Regions from separate parts of the Homo sapiens genome. Here region 2 is linked to region 1. The links are contacts of gene promoters, found by promoter capture Hi-C in blood cells and fetal thymus (Javierre and others, 2016). All regions are on one chromosome and are shown on one strand. Each heading gives the region's core, a stretch centred on a gene start or on the middle of the fragment in contact. The rest is flanking DNA. Distances are from core to core; before and after follow the strand shown. Region 1 holds the start of NOP2 (NOP2 nucleolar protein). Region 2 has its middle 27 kb from the start of APOBEC1.

Region 1 (4,273 bases), core at 1,152-3,651:
TCTAGATTTTTTTAAATGCTCTATCCTACAGCTCTTTCAAACTTGTAGTGCACTGGGAGGATATAAGGCAGTAGGGAAACAGTGATGGAGCACAAAAACCCCTTTCCTCTAGTCAGGCTTATCCTTGCCACTAAGAAACAGTCTCAAGAATCTGGGAAAGAAACTAAATAGCAAGGATCCTTCTATGAATGCCCAAAAAGATGAATCTCACCGCTTCACCTTCCTCCTCATCCTCAGAGTTGGAGTCAGCTCCATAGTCATCTACCGTATCAGCATCGTCCTCGGAGCCCCAGAGGTCCCCGTGGTTCACCATACCATCTTCTTCAGAGTCTTCCTCCTCCTCTTCCTCATCACTGCCAGGTGCTGGGCGCTTCTTGCCTCGAGGAGCATTAAATAGGGACTGGGGTCCCTTCTTACCAGCTGTCTGGACAGCTCCTGCAGAGATCCCTAAGGGTTTGAAGAGTCCTGGACTAATGGCAGCCACACATTCCCTGGCCCCACACCCTGGGAGCCTGTACTTTCTACCCCTCAGAATGTCCTTTGGCTGTTCCTTTCACTCCGGAAATGTTTAGCGAGTTCTTCCCTACCCAGGACCCAAAGGGACTCCTCATGTAGCATCCAGCTCTTAGTTTCACGGACCTTTTGGTAGCTTTCCAGGCAATGGTTTGGCCTCAGGAGACTTATTTGTCTTAGGGGCTTCAACAGAGCCCAATCTCCTCTTGGCTGCCCTGAAAAGACACAAGAGATTCAAGGAGTGAAGAAATGGGAAGATACTTCCAGGCTCTGCCATTTCCACCATAGGGAAATGTGAGAGTCTAGAATTAACTCTGTGGTCAAAGATGAGCAGTACCAATTTAACCTACTTAAGTTTTGACACCCACACTTACCTCTTTCGAGCACGACTAGACAGCCTCTTGGAATTTTCGTCACTTACTGTTTAAAAAAGAAAAACGAGGCAGAACAAGTTACAGGGGACATTAAAAATAAATGGGAACGGAAATAAACATGGTAAGAGAATTAGTACACTAATTAAAAGGAGTCCATTTAAATCTCAGCCCTGTTATTATTTAATAACTGTATACAAGTTTCTTTTTTTTTTTTGAAATGGAGTTTCACTCTTGTCTTCCAGGCTGGAGTGCAATGGCGTGATCTCAACTCACTGCAACCTCCTTCTCCCAGATTCAAGCGATTCTATTGCCTCAGCCTCCCATCACCACACCCAGCTAATTGTTGTATTTTTAGTAAAGACAGGGTTTCACCATGTTGGCCAGGCTGGTCTCGAACACTGGACCTCAGGTGATCCACCTGCCTCGGCCTCCCAAAGTGTTTCCTTAATAGTGCCTCTCTCACAGGACTCTAAGATGATTAAGCGATATAACATGACCAACAAGTTTAATACAGTGCCCAGGACTTCCTACTATCTCAATAAACTGCATCCTTTATCCAATGCCCAACACAAACTCCCGGTCCAGTGTTACCTCCCACCAGTCTTCCACACAGTATACTACTACTCGGCATGAAGCAGCCAGATCCGTGCTTTTCCATTTCCACCCCTTCCAAAAGGCAAATCAGTGACTGACCCCTCCCCTTCACTACTTCCTCTTGCTACAATGTTACCCATTTTTCAAAACCCAGCTTAACAAAAACTTTTACAGTTCTGCATGGGCTCCCCCTTCCTCTGAACTCACAATTGTTTTAAATCACACTTTTCCCTTGCATGAATAATAGTTGTGTCCGTGTCTTCACATCTCTACGACCTAAACAGTTCCCTACAATCTAAACGGCTGTTTCATTCATACCTCCTAGTAACTCATACAGAGAAGATTCCACTTAAATATAAAATGAACAGAAACTAAAAAAGAGAAGAGGTTATAATACAGAATACTGCAAAAGCTGAGGGATCAGGAGGCCACAACTAATCCTTACCTGCAGGCAAGAATCTGACGAGTTCTGTCTCGGCACCCTTCTGCTTCCGGGCCTTTCGGCCTGGCCCCCGCTTCTCCTTCGTAGGGTCCAACTTGCGCCCCATGGTACTGTGGCAGGCAGAAATGGGAGAAGGTGGCGTCGCGCGTGTCGGAGGGAACGGCAGAACGCACGCTTGGCGTATTATAGTGGGAAAGGGCACAGCCTCAACTCAGCACCCGCAACTCACTCAGCACTCCCGACTCAGCACCCGCGACTCAAGCACCCCCGCTATCCCCCTGGAGGCCCGACCGAACGCCCTCCCACCTGAAACCCAGGTAGCGCACCCTTCTCCCCACGTCCCAGACCAGGTCAGTGCTGCCACTCTTCGTCCCCCAATTTCCTCTAGACCCACCAGAATGCGGGTTAATGTCCGAGAGTGCCCTTCGGGCGGCCCTCCACGTGCAATCCGGACCTAGCTTTCGGCCGGCACTCGCCACAGAATCGTTCCACGCAGGCGCACGGGTAGCGCTAGCCTCGCGGCCCCGCCTCTTCCTGTTGCGCCTAGTCGGCCGCCGCACCCGGAACTTACGCTCGCCCTGGGAACGCCAGCGGAGCCGGCGGCGGCGAGTAGGGGGCAATTCGAAGGAGACGCGCAGCTTACACCCGCGGCGGGTGGAGGGAGCAATGTGACGAAACCATTGAGCTTGACCGACCTTCCCTCATGGAGTTGGCTTTTAGCCTCACGGCCGGTTTCTGTTGGGTGAAAGCCGCACCTTCTCCTCGAACCAGGGCCCGACATTGGAGCCCTCTCCCTCGCATCCACTGCCCTAGTCCAGCGTCAAGATCACGGAATTCCAGGCTGGGCGCAGTGGCTCACGCCTGTAATCCCAGCACTTTGGGAGGCTGAGGTGGGTGGATCACTTGAGGTCAGGAGTTCGAGACCAGCCTGGCCAATATGGTGAAACCCTGCTTCTACTAAAAATACAAAATTAGCCGGGCGTGGTGGCGGGCGCCTATAATCCCAGCTACTCGAGAGGCTGAGGCAGAATTGCTTGAGCCCGGGAGGCGGAGGTTGCAGTAAGCCGAGATCGTGCCACTTAAGCCTCACCAAGAGCGAAACTCCACCTCAAAAAAAAAAAACAAAAAAACCAGCCGGGCTCGGTGGCTCACGCCTGTAATCCCAGCACTTTGGGAGGTCGAGGCGGGCGGATCACGAGGTCAAGAAATCCGAGACCATCTTGGCCAACCTTGTCTCTATTAAAAATACAAAAATTAGTTGGGCATGGTGGCTGGCGCACGCGTGTAGTCCCAGCTACTCGGGAGGCTGAGGCAGGAGAATCGCTTGAACCCGGGAGGGGGAGGTTGCAGTGAGCTGAGATCGCGCCACTGTACTCCAGCCTGGCAACAAAGCGAGACTCCATCTCAAAACAAACAAACAAAAAAAACCGTGGAATTCCATGCCACTTACCTCCTCCTCTTTGCCCCTTTTTTAAAAATCTTTTTATAGAGACGGGTTGTAGGGGGTGGCGTCTCACTATATTGCCAGGGCTGGTCTAGAACTCCTGGGCTTAAGCGATCCTCCTGCCCCCACCTTTGTGCTGAGATTACAGGCTGTGAGCCACCGTGCCCCGCCCTCCCAGCACCTTCCTTGATGCTGACCCCTGCTCAGCCCCTCAATTAAGGTGCTGCACTGCACCTCATTCGCAGGGGGCCTCTTCGCCGGAACTCGCTTTCAGGTGGGTCTACAATTAGTTGGGAAACAACGGGTTGCAAGGCTGACCTGGTCTGGGACATGAGAAGGGGTGAACTACAAGGGTTTCAAGGTTGGAGGACGTTAGGTCGGGCCTCCGGGGGTGTGGGATTGAGGCTGTGTTCTTCCACAAATTGCATCCCAATTTTGCACAACTTAGCAAGAAAACCCCCCTCAGCCTTCCTAGAAACTAACATTAAGGTAGTGGTTAGGTGTTAAAACCGTTCCATGTACTTCACTGGTTTAACTTGACAACCGTATGAGGTATACATGAGATATCTGCATCCCACCAAAGTTAAACAACTTGCTCAAGGTCACAGAGCCATTAAGCGGCGGTGCCCGCAGTTTTGCAGCCTCTCATTTTCCACAGGTGGAAGTCAACGTTGGCAAGGCACATACTGCACCCACACACAGAACCCAGTTACTCAGTGGGGTATCAGGACACCACGTAGCCCTTAATTTTCAACTATACAGGTGCCAGGCTCCTGCCGCACACACTCATCCACCTGCACCTACACCCACACTGAACCAGAGCACTAAAATACAAGGAAACTTTTATTTTCAATTTTCATCAAGAAATTTGCTGTGGTTTTTTATGCTTTTGGTTTTTTCCTTTTT
Region 2 (3,847 bases), core at 1,162-3,661, 1.1 Mb after region 1:
CTTGAACCCCAGAGGCAGAGGTTGCAGTGAGCCAAGATCAAGTCACTGCACTCCACTCCGGATGACAAAGAAAGACTCCATCTCAAAAAAAAAAGAAAATTACCAGTATCCTTGGCAAGTCCATCTAAAATAGGATTCACTGCTTCCAACACTCTCTAGCCTTTTACTTTGCTTTACTTTGACTTTACTTTCATTTTACTTTGCTTTACTACAACAATATCTATCATGAAGGTTGATATCAAATGATAATTTAGCTGATACAATTTTTGTTGAGCCTCCAACTGTGAATGAGAAAATAAAGCCTAAAGTTCATAGTACAGCTAATGACCATTAGATATTTTCTCTGTGAAAGTTTGCTAATCAGCTGAATAATTTTTCTCCTATAGGAATAGCAATAATTATAGTGGCTCATATAAAATATGCTCATGTATTAACATCCATCTCTACTGTAAATATATAATGAGCTTTGTGTTAGTCTGCTTGCATTACTATAAAAGAATACCTGAGGCTGGGTAATCTATAAAGAAAAGGGGTTAAGTTGACTCATAGTTCTACAGGCTGTGCATGAAGCATAGTGCCAGCATCTGCTTCTGATGAGGGCTTCAGGAAGCTTACAATCATGGTGGAAGGCAAAGGGGCGACAGTGTGCCACATGGTGAGAGTAGGAGCAAGCGAGATGCCAGACTCTTAAACAACAAGCTCTTGTGTGAACGAACAGTGAGAACTCATTACTTCAGGAGGGATCTACCCACATGACCCAAACACCTCCAAATAATACAGGAATTATTAAGAAATAACTTTTAGGCCGCTAGAAAGGGTAAAGGTTCTCAGTGGAAATTTTCCTGTAATAAGAAGCAACCCCCAAACCATTTCTTTTCTAACAGAAAGGCAGCTTGAAAAACCAGGCCGGCAAGCTTTGATATGCAAATGCTGGCGATTAGAAACTGGGTCCACCCAACATGGCCAACAGGAAGAGTGCCACCCTCTCCTCCTCATCACTACATGTGCCAAGTGTCATGATTGCCTCCAGATAACATGGATATCATGGTGACCTGCATTTGCATATTAAAGGAGTAAGGTAGGAGTGCCAGGTTTTTCACGGGCTATGTGAATGACACGCCTGGTCAAACCAATCTCCTGGGCCCTATGCAAATTAGACACCTCCTCCTCCAGCCTCCTGCTATAACAAACTACTCTGCCACACACGGGGTTTCTCTCTGGGAGCCCCCCTCCCTCTGTCCCTGTACTGGGAAGCTTCTTCCTTCTTTCTTGCTTATTAAACTCTCCACTCCTTAAAACCACTCTACATGTGTCCATGTCGCTTTATCTAAAACGATGTTAGACCAAGGACCCTGCTGTTCTTCCATTCATCAGAGCAGTTATCATTTTGGTTGCATTGACCGGGAATTCATTCATCGGAGTGGTGACTATAGAGCGAGCCCCAACCTCAAATCTCTCCTTCAATTTCAAGGCTCTCTTCTTACTATCCTGTTGCAAAATTTTCCTTCTTTCTCTATCCACGGTCTCTTACTCTCTCTCTGTGAAAAGTGCAGGGAGTTTTACAGTTCAGTGAAACAGGTCTGCTAGGAAAGATGGCAAACGCAGCAGGCAGTAACTCAACAAGCCCGCTCTCTGTGGCTGCGCTGGTGAGCATATAGTATTTCTAAGCCAACAGCGCCACCTAGTGGAAGTAGAAATCCTCTTCAGGGGCCACATTTTTTACGGTAACACTGAACTTCCTTTTGCACCACCAGAAATCAGGCTCTAACCTACTTCTGTGAACCGGAAAGTTCTGCCTTCAGCAATTAGAAGTAATATGTCCTCGACCGGGCATGGTGGCTTACGCCTGTAATCCCAACACTTTGGGAGGCCAAAGCGGGTGGATCACGAGGTCAGGAGTTCGAGACCAGCCTGGCCAATATGGTGAAACCCCGTCTCTACTAAAAACACAAAAATTAGCTGGGCGTGGTGGTGCACACCTGCGGTCCCAGCTGCTCAGGAGGCTGAGGCTATTGAATTGCTTAAAACGGGGAAGCAGAGGTTGCAGTGAGCTGAGATTACGTCACTGCACTCCAGCCTGGGTGACAGTGAGACTCTGTCTCAAAAAGAAGTAATATGTCTGCTGCCACATTTTAGTCTTGATATTGTCCCATAAGCAGGAAAATGGCCATTCTGTTCCTACGCTCTTTTAAGACATCTAATCTGTTTCCTGTTAAAATGGTATAATTAGTAGGGAGATTTTAAGTTCAGAAGTTAACCAGAACCATTTTTCTGAGGGTAAATGGTTTGGCATGGGCCATAATAGCAGGCAGTCTAGCACATTGCCTCTGTTAAAGGAGCCTTGACCAAAAACAACACAGTCTCTCCAAAGATCAATTTTTCAGGGAGCCAGGTAGATCACATAGGCTTAGGAAGTCAAAGGGAATCACACAAGGCAGATAAGCTAAGGTTGCGTGGGTAAAGTGTGGTTAATCCCATTGAGAGGTGACAGCGTGCTAGCAGTCCTCACAGCTCTCGCTCGCTCTCGGCGCCTCCTCTGCCTGGGCTCCCACTTTGGCGGCACTTGAGGAGCCCTTCAGCCCACCGCTGCACTGTGGGAGCCCCTTTCTGGGCTGGCGAAGGCCGCAGCCCGCTCCCTCAGCTTGCAGGGAGGTGTGGAGGGAGACGCGCGAGCGGGAACCGGGGCTGCGCGCGGCGCTTGCGGGCCAGCTGGAGTTCCGGGGGGGCGTGGGCTTGGCGGCCCCGCACTCGGAGCAGCCGGCCGGCCCTGCCGGCCCGGGGCAGTGAGGGGCTTAGCACCCGGGCCAGCGGCTGCGGAGGGTGTACTGGGTCCCCCAGCAGTGCCAGCCCACCGGCGCTGCGCTCGATTTCTCACCGGGCCTTAGCTGCCTTCCCGCGGGGCAGGCCTTGGGACTGCAGCCCGCCATGCCTGAGCCTTCCCCCGCCTCCGTGGGTTCCTGTGCAGCCGGAGCCTCCCCGACGAGCGCCGCCCCCTGCTCCACGGCGCCCAGTCCCATCGACCGCCCAAGGGCTGAGGAGTGCAAGCGCATGGCGTGGGACTGCAGCGCCGGTGCGGGATCCACTGGGTGAAGCCAGCTGGGCTCCTGAGTCTGGTGAGGACGTGGAGAATTTATGTTTAGCTCAGGGATTGCAAATACACCAATGGACACTCTGTATCTAGCTCAAGGTTTGTAAACACACCAATCAGCACCCTGTGTCTAGCTCAGGGTTGTGAGCGCGCCAATCGACACTCTGTATCTAGCTGCTCTGGTGGGGCCTTGGAGAACCTTTGTGTGGATACTCTGTATCTAACTAATCTGATGGGGAGGAGGAGAACCTTTGTACCTAGCTCAGGGATTGTAAACGCACCAATCAGCGCCCTGTCAAAACAGACCACTCGCCTCTACCAATCAGCAGGATGTGGTTGGGGGGGGGCCAGATAAGAGAATAAAAGCAGGCTGCCCGAGTTGGTAGTAGTAACCCGCTCGGGTGTCTCTCTGCCTTGGTGGGGCTTTGTTCTTTCGCTCTTGGGGTCCATACTACTTTTGTGAATTACAGCACTCACCACGAAAGCTTGCGAGACCACGAGCCTACCGGGAGGAACGAACAACTCCCGACGCGCTGCCTTAAGAGCTGTAACAGTGACCGCAAAGGTCTGCAGCTTTACTCCTGAGCCCGCCAGACCATGAACCCACCAGAAAGAAAAAACTGAACACACCTGCACATCAAAAGGAACAAACTCCAGACGCGCCACCTTAAGAGCTGTAACACTCACCGTGAGGGTCTGCGGCTTCATTTTTGAAGTCAGTGAGACCAAGAACCCACCCATTCCGGACACACCATCACT

What was found. The method cuts DNA at HindIII sites, captures the fragments that hold promoters and counts their contacts. A CHiCAGO score of 5 or more calls a contact.
Region 2: a fragment that was not itself captured here is called in contact with the fragment with the promoter of NOP2 in region 1 in 1 of 17 cell types (activated CD4 T cells); the score reaches 6.3 in activated CD4 T cells.

What each region holds. Positions count from the first base shown.
Region 1 is chr12:6,565,890-6,570,162 of GRCh38, forward strand. It overlaps NOP2 (NOP2 nucleolar protein), which reads right to left and starts at 2,402. Exons shown (of 16, transcript NM_001258308.2): 1 at 2,318-2,402; 2 at 1,927-2,033; 3 at 888-933; 4 at 640-728; 5 at 212-447. The coding sequence starts at 2,029. CHD4-AS1 (CHD4 antisense RNA 1) reads left to right here and starts at 2,482. Exons shown (of 3, transcript NR_199067.1): 1 at 2,482-3,641. CHD4 (chromodomain helicase DNA binding protein 4) reads right to left here. Exons shown (of 40, transcript NM_001273.5): 40 at 4,193-4,273. RefSeq lists enhancers at 2,252-2,873, 2,697-2,746. The HindIII fragment of the contact is 18,468 bases long and covers 1-4,273 here.
Region 2 is chr12:7,637,180-7,641,026 of GRCh38, forward strand. No RefSeq gene overlaps it. Among named protein-coding and RNA genes, the nearest start is that of APOBEC1, 27 kb to the right of the region's middle. RefSeq lists an enhancer at 667-1,201 and silencers at 1,643-1,772, 2,854-2,953. The HindIII fragment of the contact is 2,319 bases long and covers 1,253-3,571 here.